Linked DNA regions of Homo sapiens: region 1 is linked to region 2. Evidence: promoter capture Hi-C in human tissues and cell types (Jung and others, 2019). All regions are on one chromosome and are shown on one strand. Each heading gives the region's core, a stretch centred on a gene start or on the middle of the fragment in contact. The rest is flanking DNA. Distances are from core to core; before and after follow the strand shown.

The links. The method cuts DNA at HindIII sites, captures the fragments that hold promoters and counts their contacts. A contact is called where the count stands out against the background at its distance.
Region 1: a contact is called between a fragment that was not itself captured here and the fragment with the promoter of ERVFRD-1 in region 2, in 2 of the 25 tissues and cell types used here (adrenal gland and spleen).

What each region holds. Positions count from the first base shown.
Region 1 is chr6:11,165,891-11,172,683 of GRCh38, forward strand. No RefSeq gene overlaps it. Among named protein-coding and RNA genes, the nearest start is that of ERVFRD-1, 58 kb to the left of the region's middle. RefSeq lists an enhancer at 6,666-6,793. The HindIII fragment of the contact is 5,253 bases long and covers 1,674-6,793 here.
Region 2 is chr6:11,106,792-11,113,107 of GRCh38, forward strand. ERVFRD-1 (endogenous retrovirus group FRD member 1, envelope) reads right to left here and starts at 4,934. Exons shown (of 2, transcript NM_207582.3): 1 at 4,886-4,934. The region is part of intron 1 of SMIM13 (small integral membrane protein 13); the gene reads left to right. The HindIII fragment of the contact is 12,472 bases long and covers 1-6,316 here.

The sequences.
Region 1 (6,793 bases), core at 3,050-5,549, 58 kb after region 2:
GAGACTGCACCACTGCACTCCAGCCTGGGCGATAGAGTGAGACTCCGTTTCAAAAAAAAAAAGAAAATGCACATGATTCACTACCTTACACCAGAACCCACAGACACAAAAACACTCTCAGTTAGCAAATTACAGTTGGAGCCCAGCCCATCCTGACTTGTACACATAATTCTCTCTATCCCATCATTTGTTCTCTCCCTTCACTGTACATCAAGTAACTGACATATGTGATCAGATCTATTGTATAACACTATTATTATTTTTTTAACTAAATGGCTAGTGATATAGACAATAAAAGAAAATGAGGTAGAGAAAAACCTTCTTATGAAAGAACCCCTTAGGCCGGGCATGGTGGCTCATGCCTGTAATCCTAGCACTTTGGGAGGCCGAGATGGGCAGATCACCTGAGATCAGGAGTTTGAGACCAGCCCGGCCAACATGGTGAAACCCCGTCTCTACTAAAAATCCAAAAATTAGCCAGGCATGATGGTGTGCTCTTGTAATCCCATCTTCTCAGGAGGCTGAGGCAGCAGAATCACTCGAACCCGGGAGGCAGAGGTTTCAGTGAGCCGAGATCGCACCACTGCACTCCAGCCTGGGTGACAGAGCAAGACTCTGTCTTGGAAAAAAAAAAAAAGAATGCATTAGTGGTGTGCTTGTTCCACTTTTATTTTTGTTTCCCATTTAGTTTTTTACTTTCATTGTTTGACAAACAATAGCAATGACAACAACAGACTCCTCTGCATACTTATTTGATTAGAGAATTCCAATATGTTTCAATTATCATTGTGAAATCAAGGAGACTCATGACTTTTTGTACACAGCTGTTACATGTACGGCAATCAGTTTTTAAGGTGGGATAAATTTCTCTAAAATAAATGATCCTAGATAGCTTTCCTTCAAGTCAAGTGTCTTGCTGTTTAAATCCATTTCTTGTTTAAAGTAATAATATAAAAAAGTTCATCACTTTATCAACAGAACAGTGAAACTATTTCTTATAACAGGAGCAGGGCTGTCATATCATGTCAGAGAGTAAGAGGAATTCTATGAGATTTAAGAGGCCAAGACAGTGTGGTCCAGGTGCAAACTCATGGGTGGATTGGCTTGATCAGGATAAAGCTTAGCATAGCTAGAGGGATGGATGAGTTGTAAATCTTTGCAGAAACCTCTGTGAACGTTCATCACACTTCTTCGATGCAGTCACCTTGACCTGCCATCCACCTGGATGCTTTAGGTAGTAATCTTCCTGGAATCTGGAGGTTTAACCATGTGGCTTCCCAAAGATGCCTGCAGCTACCTGACCCTGGGAGGTTTGAAGACAGTGCTCACTCAGGCCCTGCCGACAGGAAGGCTTTCCCGGCCAAATGGCCAGAGACTTTGGGAGCTTTCAAAAGAAACTCTTAGTTGCCCCAACTCTGCTCTCCTCCAGGAAAAAATTACTGTAGAAGCCAAAGATAGGCAGTTTTTGCCTTTCCTTTTCCACGTGTTTGGTATGTAATAAGTCATTCTCCTGTGAGGTTTAATTACTTTGCATCCTATAGCAAGGCTAGGCCATATAGGATATTATCATATTTCCCCCCTTGATTTCCTGAAAGCTCAGTATTATACCAAAGATGTGTTTGGAAGATTACCGAGTAGTTATTTTATCTGTGCTTATTTTAACTCAATATCTACTTAATATATCTCACGGCTTTTGCAAAAGTGAAATGCGTGAGTAGCTTAAGCTCGCCCACGTTTCCAACCCTGCTTGATCAACTGTACTTGATTCTGCTTGGTCACCCAACAATTAACACACACTTCATGCTCGATCTATGAAAACGTTGACTTAACATTATTTTAGTCAGTCAGCAGATCCCAAGAGGAAATTCTTAGATTTGGAAAATTTTTGTGTGCTTCTTTTGTTTTCAATTTCAGAATGGTGGCAATATATTTGTTAAACATTTATATGAAGCTGACTATGTGCCAGACCCTGTTCTCAATGCTTTGTAAAGTTTAATTTGTAATTTTCAGTCTTCTAACAAGTCTGTGATACAGCGACTATGATTATGCCCATTTTATTGGTGAGGAGATCAAGATCTGCAGAGAGTGAAGTAGCTCATTGAAGAGCCAGAGATGAGATTTAAACCCAGGTTCTATTACTGAGGCCAAACTCTTCTAGATGAGATTGAACTGCTGTTGTTGTTGTTTTGACTTTTCATTTGGAAATAATTCCAAATTTTCAGAAAAGCTTTGAGACTAACAATAGCACACACCCTTTACTGAGATCCACTTACTGTTAACACAGATAAAATTGCTTTTCTAAAACACGCATGCCTATATAGTCACCTTTACCCTAGAATACTTGAGTGCATCTTTGCTAAGAATAGGAATATTCTCTTACAGAACCACCGAGTATTTATCCACTTGAGTAAATTTAACATTGATTTAATTTATTCAATGGTAGTCTGTATTTCCATGATGACAGTTGACCCAATAATGCCCTTTCTTATTTCCTCTGGGATGGGATCCAGTCTAGGGCCCGACATTTGGATCTAGTTGTCATGTCTGTCTGGCCTCCTTTAATCAGAAACATTCCCACAGCCTTCCTTTATCTTTCATAACAATGACAGGCAGCAGAATAAGTTTCCCTGTGCCTTTTAAAGACAGAACAAATGTTCTTCATTGTGTTTGTCTGATGTTTCCTCACGATGAGGCGAGAAAATGAAATACTGCGTAAGTGATCCTGCATCCGTCTCAAAAAAGGTCTCATTTCTGGAGACACTGATGTCCTTCTCACCTCATTGGCGGTGTTGATTTTGATCATTCCTCCCCTCCAGGGCGTTGACTGATTTCCCCATGGTGTAAATTACTAGTTTTCCTTTGCATCTAATAAGCAGCCTGTGGGGAGCCTGAAATATGTTTCTTGCCAGGTGGAGGCACGGTCATAAGGAGCAGTGTGTGTGTGTGAGGATGGAGAGAAGCCCTTCCCTTCTAGGGGAACGTGAGGAGAGTGGAGGGTGCACTTCCTCCACCTGCAGCTGGAAAGTCTGTGCGCCTTTCAGTGATGAAGCTTACAGATGGATGTTGCAGGGCTTTGGGTAGGGCCTGGACCAGGCTCCAGGTAGAGTATTTCGGGCTTGGATGTTTTCAGGCACCAATAAGTCAAGCTTGCATTGATGATATTACAAAGTGGCAGAGGTGCCTCCTGAATGAAAAAGAAATGGAATCCTAACCCTGACTTCTGTCTTTGAGGGTCAAACATATAAAAACATGTCTGATGCCGGATTTCTGGGAAGGGCATTGGTTTCTGGAGGGGAGATTGATAATGGCAGAGATGGAAGTCTGGGCCAGTTTCACACCAGAGGCAGGGGGAAGTTGCAAGGAAAGATTGATTTAGGGTGTGAAATTGCCAACAGATGAAGTTGTTCCACCTGGCACCCTGGTGGTGGATGTATATGGAAGAAAACTTGCTATGAGCCGCAGTTCTGGAGCCCCTCCCTTTCTACTGTGGAACATATTGGCTCAGCACACGGAGGAGCAGAGCCCATGCTTCTTTATACATTCAGAGAGCATCAGAGCTCTCACATGTGGCTAATCACATGTAATCAAAGATAGTAGCTAAAGGCTGGGCGCAGTGACTCATGCCTGTAATCCCAGCACTTTGGGAGGCTGAGGTGGGCGGATCACTTGAGGTCAGAAGTTTGAGACCAGCCTGGCCAACATAGTGAAACCCTGTCTCTACCAAAAATATTTTTTTAAAAATTAGCTGGGTGTGGTGGTGTGCACCTGTAGTCCCAGCTACTTGGGAAGCTGAGGCAAGAGAATCGCTTGAACCCTGGAGGCAGAGGTTGCAGTGAGCCAAGATCGTGCCACTGTACTCCAGTCTGGGCGACAGAGTGAGACTCCATCTCAGGAAAAAAAAAAAAAAAAAAGATAGTAGCTAAAAAAGAGAGGATGAGGAATAATTTTGAGGAATAATTTAGGTAGAAAAGATGGTATGGAGAGAAAATGTAAAACCCAGATGGACCCATAAGTTACTAGTTACTGATATTGGGCATCAAATTTGTCTCTGACCTTTACAGTAAAGGAAAACATGATCAGTTAATTGCAAAAATCTTGTTTCCATGAGAAAAAGCATATCAATTACTCAGGACAAATGAAATATCCCCTGATGCTTAAATATGAATACGTTTGCCTATAATTTGCTCATTGATCATAAAACTTTTCTTTTGTTTCGCCTTCTGTCCATTTTCTCTATAATTGTTGTTTTGCTTGCTGGTGCAATGGTTGAAAGGCCTATAGATGCTGTAAGTGCTGAAGATCTGAGGATGAGGATCTGAGGATGAGGATGGGATGTACTGAAAGTGTTGGGTCATGTTGACAGAGAGCATGGGGTGATTAACGTCACAGTCATCCCAAACCATGGATTCTAAATCTAGGGACAGGTTTTGGCCTGGTTACAGCAACTTTGCAAAGGAGTATATTGCAGCTGAGATCACCCGGGGAACTATGAAACAAGCAATAAAACAAAAGATCTTCAAGGAACACTGAGAAGGGGACTTGTAGGGATCTGCTGTGCAGCGCAAATCCAACCTCAGGAGCTTACAGCAGAGAAATCACATAGACATTCAACGAGAACAACCAAAGTTACTAAAGTAATTGTGGAAAAAGGTTATATAAAGGGGAAACAATACAACAGTAACTCATGGGCACTACATCCTGCCTTTTGAAGGAATTTTATTTTTAGTTATTGTTAAGGATCCTGCAATGTTCTTTTTCCTTTAAAGGGCTCCTCCAAGCCAGGCGTGGTGGCTCACGCCTGTAATGCCAGCACTTTGGGAGGCCGAGGCAGGCGGATCACTTGAGGTCAGGAGTTCAAGACCAGCCTGGCCAACATGGTGAAACCCCGTCTCTACTAAAAATACAAAAATCAGGGGGACGTGGTGGCAGGAGCCTGTAATCCAAGCTACTCGGGAGGCTAAAGCAGTGAGGAGGCACAAGTTGCGGTGAGCCGAGATGGCGCTGAGAGGTGACAGCCTGCTGGCAGCCCTCACAGCCCTCGCTCACTCTCAGCACCTCCTCGGCCTTGGCGCCCACTTCGGCGGCACTCGAGGAGCCCTTCAGCCCACCGCTGCACTGTGGGAGCCCCTTCCTGGGCTAGCCGAGGCGGGAGCCGGCTCCCTTAGCTTGCAGGGAGGTGTGGAGGGAGAGGGGCGGGCGGGAACCGGGGCTGCGCGCGGTGCTTGCGGGCCAGCGTGAGTTCCGGGTGGGTGTGGGCTCGGTGGGCCCCGCACTCGGAGCGGCCTGCCAGCCCCGGGCAATGAGGGGCTCAGCACCCGGGCCAGCGGCTGCGGAGGGTGTGCTGGGTCCCCCAGCAGTGCTGGCCCACCGGCGCTGTTCTCGATTTCTCGCCGGGCCTTAGCTGCCTCCCTGCGGGGCAGGGCTCGGGACCTGCAGCCTGCCATGCCTGAGCCTCTCCCCCACGCCCGTGAGCTCCTGTGCGGCCGAGCCTCCCCGACGAGCGGCGCCCCTGCTCCACGGCGCCCAGTCCCATCGACCACCCAAGGGCTGAGGAGTGCGCGCACACCGCACGGGACTGGCAGGTAGCTCCACCTGCGGCCCCGTGCGGGATCCACTGGGTGACGCCAGCTGGGCTCCTGAGTCTGGGCGGGACTTGGAGAACCTTTATGTCTAGCTAAGGGATTGTAAATACACCAATCGGCACTCTGTATCTAGCTACTCTTGTGGGGACTTGGAGAACCTTTGTGTCCACACTCTGTATCTAGCTAATCTAGTGGGGAGGTGGAGAACCTTTGTGTCTAGCTCAGGGATTGTAAACGCACCAATCAGCGCCCTGTCAAAACAGACCACTCGGCTCTCTGTAAAATGGACCAATCAGCAGGATGTGGGTGTGGCCAGATAAGAGAATAAAAGCAGGCTGCCTGCACCAGCAGTGGTAACCCGCTCGGGTACTTTTCTGTACGGGTGTCTTTCCACGCTGTGGAAGCTTTGTTCTTTTGCTTTTTGCAGTGAAGTTTGCTACTGCTCAGTCTTTGGGTCCACACTGCCTTTATGAGCTATAACACTCACTGTGAAGGTCTGCAGCTTCACTCCTGAAACCAGCAAGACCACGAACCTACTGGGAGGAACGAGCAACTCCAGACGGGCAGCCTTAAGAGCTGTAACACTCACTGCGAAGGTCCACAGCTTCACTCATGCGCCAGTGAGACCACAAACCCCACCAGAGGGAAGAAGCTCTGAACACATCCGAACATCAGAAGGAACAAATTCCAGACACGCTGCCTTTAAGAACTGTAACACTCACCGCGAGGATCCGCGGCTTCATTTTTGAAGTCAGTGAGACCAAGAACCCACCAATTCCGGACACAGCTCCACTGCAGTCCAGTCTTGAGTGTCTGAGGCAGACTCCGTTTAAAAAAAAAAAAAAAGGATCCTCCAATGTGGGATGGGGGTGGAGGAGCTTGGAGGTGGATTCATTCCTTTGGGTTCAGTTAGCCAGTCAACAAACATGAATTGAACTCTTTGTGTTAGTTAGGTAGTGAGATGGGAAAGATGAACTCATGGTCCAAGATGCCCTGTGTCTGAAATATACAAGAGGCTAGGGAGATGTGCAGCAAGGAAGTAATCGTACTGCTACGTGGTTGTGGAGCGCTTAAGAATTATTTTGAATGCTTATTTTCACAACAGCGAATCAGGTCTGCACTAGCATTCCTATTTCCCAGGCACGTTAGAGATGAAATCGGTTGTAAAAACCAATTGTCCTCCACCTTTCATTTCCCATCAGACCACAAGG
Region 2 (6,316 bases), core at 3,684-6,183:
ACTATTGTCACCTCCTGGGGCAAATGAACAGCTTCTAATAGCTCTAAGATTTGAGGCCCATATTTAATTTGAGTATCTGGAGCTGTTAGGTACACCCTCTCCTTCCAGATAGCTGTGTGAGTGTGAAGAACCAGAAACGTGTATTTGGAATTTGTATATACTCCTTTTCTTTCCCCTAGTTTAGGGCTTTCGTCAGCACAGTGAGTTTGGCTAATTGCACAGAGGTCCCCGGGGACAGAGCTTTAACCTCTGTAATTTGTTGAAGGGACATTGTACCATACTCTGCATATCTAGCTCTATCCCTGACAAAGCTATTCCCACCTGAAAACCGTATGTCATGTGGATTATCTAGGAGCTGATCTTTTAAATCTTCCTGGCTGGCATAAATTTGGTTAAGTATCTCACAACACAAATGTGGTGTTATGGTCTCCTGGTAGTGGCAGTAAGGAAACTGAGTTAAGGGTGGAACACTGCTCAACTGTTACCTATGGGTTTTCTAACAACAAGACTTGGTACTTTAGGAGTCTGTTTTCAGACACGTTGTATTCTCTGTCTGCAAGGAAGTTTGGTGTTTGGACTAGATGTTGGATTCCCAGTTCTCTTGTTGGGGAGCAGATTAACAGGTCATCCATGTATTGTAGGAGACACTCTCTCCTCTCAAGACTTAGGTCCTGCAAATCTCTAGCCAGGGCTTGCCCAGACCAATGGGGACTGTCTCTGAAACCCTGTTGAAGCACTGTGCAGGTGAGCTGTTGACTCCTTCCTTTTCATTCTCCCACTCAAATGCAAATAGAAATTGGGAGGATGGGTCGAGGGGGAGATACAAAAGAAAGAGTCTTTAAGGTCTAAGACTGGAAACCACTGAGCATCTGGAGGTTGGGGAAGAATTACATATGAGTTGGGGATCATTGGGTGTATTGGGACTACTGCCTCATTTATGATTCTCAGGTCCTGGACTAGCCTGTATTTTTCATTGCTCTTTTTAACAGGTAAGATGGGGTGTTATAGGGTATTAATAATCCATGTTTTTGAAATTTTTCAGTCAGAAGCTGAAATCCCTCTTTGGCCTCCAGCTGAAGAGGAAACTGCCTTCTACAAGGATAGCTAGAAGGATTCTTGGGCTGAATTACTATAGGCATTGCCATTATGGCCTTTCCTGTTATTCCTGAGGCCCAGACCTCTGGATAAATGGGAAGGTCTGTGAACAGTTCATCCTTGTGTATGGTTTCCTTGAGGCATAAGATTGCATTTGAAAAAGGGGGTGTTGGCCCTGGAGGAAAGGTTAACTGAGCCCCTAGTCTGAGCAAAATATCTCTACCCAAAAGGTATGTAGGGTATTCTGGCATCACTAAAAATGAATGAGAAAAGACGGTTTTCCCCCAGAGACAGCACAGAGGAGGAGTAAACCTCCAGGTTACGGGCACTTCATATCCTCCCAGGAGGATAATTGCCTGGGAAAAGAGGTAAGCATTGAGCAGGCAGCCCTCATGTCCAAAAGAAAACTTACAGTCCTACTGGGCACATCCAAGGCAGCCCTTGGCTCTGTCCCTTCAATAGTGTTATTTAATCCAGGAGCCAAGTGGAGCGTAGGGCCCCCTTCAGCTCAAGGAGCTGAAGGTCATCCAGTTGGGATGTCCTGAGGGCCTTTCAGCTTTCAGGGTAGTCCTGTTTCCCAGTGGCCAAGATTGTGGCAATTGGAGCATGGAGAGCTGGGGGTGGGTGTCCCCATCAGTTTGGGCACTGCCTTCTTGTGTGGCCTGGCTCCCCACAGAAGTAGCATTTGGGCAAAGGGATCTCCCTGGGGCCTGCCAGAGGTGGCTGGCAGGTTTGCAGGGCAGTCAGTAGTTGGAGCTGTTGCTTTTCCTTTTGCCTCTCCTTTTCTTGAGCCCTTTCCTACTCCTCCTGGTTTTGGTTGTAAAAGACCAAGGAACCTACTTTGCAGATGTCAGGCATAGGGGTACTGGGATCCAGTGCTAGTTTCTGGTGTTTCCTCCTAATATCTGGTGTTGTTTGAGTTAGGGAAATGATCCTTTATGAACAGTTGTCCTTCTAGTGGGTCTGGGTCTAGGTTAGTGTGTTTCACTAGGGCCTCTTCTAGCCTGTCTAAGAAAATGGTGAGGTTTTCATAAGGCCCTTGATCTGTCAAGCCCAATTTATTACAGTTCACAGGCTTTGCTCTGCTAGCTTTCATTCCTTCTATCAGATAGAGGAACATGTGGGTCCTTGCTCATGTACTCCCCTGGATATTGTAATCCCAATTGGGGTTGACCTGGGGAACTATGGTGGCCCCCACAGGGTAGCCACCAGTGTCAGGCATGTGCATTGTGTTTGCAAATTGTTGGACCGCCACCATAATGGAGTCACATTCTCCCTTAGGCAGAGTTTGCCCTAGTATGACTGAGAGGTCCCTCCTGGTGAGTTCAGATGTTAAGCCCAGTTTATAAAACACTTTGATATATTTGTCAGGGTCCTCCATAAACTTCCCTAGTTCCATTTTAATTTGGCTCAGGTCTTGCACAGTGAATGGAGTCTGGACTCCAGTGGGTCCACTGGGACCACTAAACCTCCTGAATGGGGCATAACTTAAGGAGGTGGTGTCCAGAGGATGGCCCTGGGTAGGGAGGAGAAGGCTTCTGGGAGACTTCGATATAATTGGGTAGAAGGGGCAATGGGGCTTGAGCTCTGGGTAAACCTGATGAGGGGCCTTCTGAACCAATGGGAAGGGGCTGCATGACTATGGCCATGGATCTGTTTTACAAGCCCAACAAAGGTCAGGGTTGTTTCTTAGGGCCATGAAGGCCAGCACATAGGGGATTTCTGTCCATTTTCCCTGGTGGTAGCAAAACAAATCTAGTTGATGGATCATATTTAAATTTGTGCTTCTATTTTCTGGCCAAGATTCCTGGTCCTAGAGCTTTTATTCAACCCAGGCTGTATTACAGAAAAATATTAGCCTTTTCCTTTTTAGGGTTTGGGAGTCAAACTTTTCCCAGTTCTTGAGGATGTATCCTAGTAGTGTGTCCTGTGGTACAGAGACTTGATTACCTGTCCACAGAGAGAACAGAGGAGAGAAGAGAAAAAGAAGGCAACCCCTCCAATTTCCCTACTGTCTTTTTCCTGAACTTACAGCAGACCAGAGTGGGTAGGGCATTACCCCATTCATCCATTTTTCCTTTGCGTATGGCAGTGTCCCCCATTCATTCTAGGGGTTCCAGAATGAACCAGTGCTTACCAGGTACCCCTAACCTTGGTCCCATCTTGTTTTATTGAGGCACAATTACCCGTTTGTAAAGAAAGAACAGAGGCGAGAAGAGGGCATCTCCCCTTGTTCTCTTAATCCTGTGCCTATGGCAGACTACAGTGAACAGGGTGCCCTCCCACTCATCCAAGGGGTTCTGGAATGAACCCAGTGTTTACTGGGTACCCCTACCCTGATCCCATCCCATTTCTGGACCAGCCTTCATCTGTGTTGCAGTGGTAATCTGTTTTGTGTTTGTAGCCTGGAACTAGTCTTCATCTCTGTTCTATGGGTACTTTGGTCTCTTGCATCTGCCTCCTTGGGCTGTCCTATATCCTTGTCTCCATGACCTTATAGTGACCCTTGTTCAGAGCATTCTAGCAACAGAATGATTATCTCTTCTCAGATTCTCATTTCCCATGTTCTTTAAGAAGACGAGAAGCCTGTTTTTCTGCCAATTGCTGCAAGGGGGCTGGACTTCTCTCCCTTCAAATATAACTTTGAAGGTCCTGATACATATTGAGAAGGGCCTGGAGGTGATTAGAGGAATGGAGGAAAATTTGTATTTGGGATTCTTCATCCTCCCAGGGTAACATGCAGAACAAATGCTTAACGAGGTAGAACAATCCCTCTGCTACAGGAGAAAGCGGGAGGAAGCAAGAGGAATACTCATGGAAAGCCTTCATATGTTTGCAGAAACAGCAGCCCTTGGATTTGAGAGGGCAACGTTTATTTGCCCTCTTGATATAAAGGAGGAACCTCTGGAGGACTTGGTGTTTGGGATAAGACCCTGCAAACGGCAGAGAATTTTCCTTCCCCACAAAGGGGTGCTAACTCAGAAAAAAAGCGAGTGGGTGGGGTCCTTAAGGGCTACAGAGTGAGGTCCTATGCAAGCAAGCAAACCATTCAAAAGCCAGGGAGAAACATGGCCCTGGAGCATAACAGGGATGAAAAGCATATGGTAAGTCATAAGGAGCTGACAGAGCTAAGGTTCTGATTAGTGTCTATCCCGGCAGTGAGCCAACAGACAGGGAAAGGGTTGGAGGTCATCCGAGCTGGTAGGGTAACAAGTATAAATATCAAGGGACATCCGTAAGGGAGTCCATCTCTTGGTTGCCAGGCTAACACAGCAAGAGCTGCGGGTGCATGAATAACAAATAGGGAATGTGTGTTTAAGGCAGAGAAGAAAGTTGCAGGGCATGCAAAGTAAGAACAGAGAAAAGACAGACTTACCCCCAAGGCAGTTGGTCCAATGGGTGTGCGAGGTCATTTTGGAATACATACAGAGAAAGGAAAATAGGTGGTGGTGGGTTTTTGGGAAAGAGCTGATTTTAGTTGAAAAAGCAGAGGAAACCCCAGATACTACATGGTTGTAGGTTTTAGCCCTACCGCTCTCATCAGCCTCCTGTCTGGGGGGGCCATTAGTGTCTCAGGTCTACTTAGTGCAGACTCCAAGGTCCTTCCCACCCCTGCAAGCCATCCTTCGGGGTGAGCAGAGAGAGCAGCCAGGGGGAGCAGAGCCACTGTGGTTGAGAGGAATCGTTCCAGGGGTAGGTTAGTAAGCAGGAGAGTGAAAGAGGAGAACGAAACCACGTACGAGGGTTGAACGCCTCCAGCCGAAGAAGGCAAGGCGTAGAGGTGTCTTACCACTAGGGAAGGTATCCGAGTCACTGCACCATTTGAGAGATCCAAGTGCCCTGTTCAGCCCTTGACTTGGGGTTTTATACATCGGCATGGTTCCGGGGTTTCCATTTCTCCTCCTTGGATTTTTTTCCTTGGGGTGGGCTGTCTGCTGTGCAGTGGCCTGTCAGCACTTGGGAGGAGCCACATGTGCATTTGTTTACTGAAGTTGTGCGCATGCTTTCTTGAGACATTTTTCCCTTATCAGTCAGGTGTTCCTAGAGGAAGGTCACATACTGGTTAAACTGTCATTTTGCTTCTTAGTGCGCATGCTTGAGCCCACTTGCCCAGCTTCGGAGATCTTATCAGGAAGTTGCTGATCACCAGCTTCCGGTGTTTCCTGTCTTTTGGGAGACTGTCTTTCCCTGGTACTGGCTGCAACCCATTATTATTATTTTAGAGAAACAGTGTAACAACCGCCTGATCATCACCTGATGGTCGCCTGACATTCCTGAGCTGGGGGCCCTCTCCTGCCCTGCTCATGTCTGCCTGACTACCTACTCTAACAGAACCAGCTTAACCTAATGGCCTCCTGATAGAACTGCTTGCTTTTTTTTTTTTGGAGACAGCCTCGCTCTGTCTCCCAGGCTGGAGTGCAGTGATGCAATCTTGGCTCACTGCAACCTCCACCTCCCGGGTTCAAGTGATTCTTGTGCCTCAGACTCCTGAATAGCTGGAATTAACAGGTGTGCACCACCATGCCCAGCTAATTTTTGTATTTTTAGTAGAGACAAGATTTCACCATGGTGGCCAGGCTGATCTTGAACTCCTGACCTCAAGTGATCTGCTGTCCTTGGCCTCCCAAAGTGCTGGGATTACAGGCATGAACCACCACACCTGGCCCAAACTGCTTTCCATAAACATAAATTTACCTTTCTAATGTAAATCAAATCACACAACATGCTTTTTGTGTTTGACTTCTTTCTGCTAGCATAATGCTTTTGAAATCTATTTGTGTTGTGTATATCAGTAATACATTCTTTTGTATTGCTGAAAGAGTATTCCATTGTATAGATATACCACAATTTGTTTATCCATTTACTCATTGATGGACATGAGAGTGGTTTCCAGCTTTTGGCTGTTAGTATTATTATTGTTTTATTTATTTATTTTTTTGAGATGGGGTCTTGCTCTGTCGCCCAAGCTGGAGTGCAGTGGTATGATCTTGGCTCACTGCAACCTTTGCCTCCTGGGTTCAAGCAATTCTCCTGCCTCAGCCTCCCAAGTAGCTGGGATTATAGGCACCTGCCACCATGCCTGGCTAATTTATTTTATTTTATTATATATTTTTTTGTATTTTTAGTAGAGACGGGGTTTCACCATGTTGGCCAGGCTGGTTTCGAACTCCTGACCTCAAGTAATCCACCCGCCTGGGCCTCCCAAAGTGTTGGGATTACA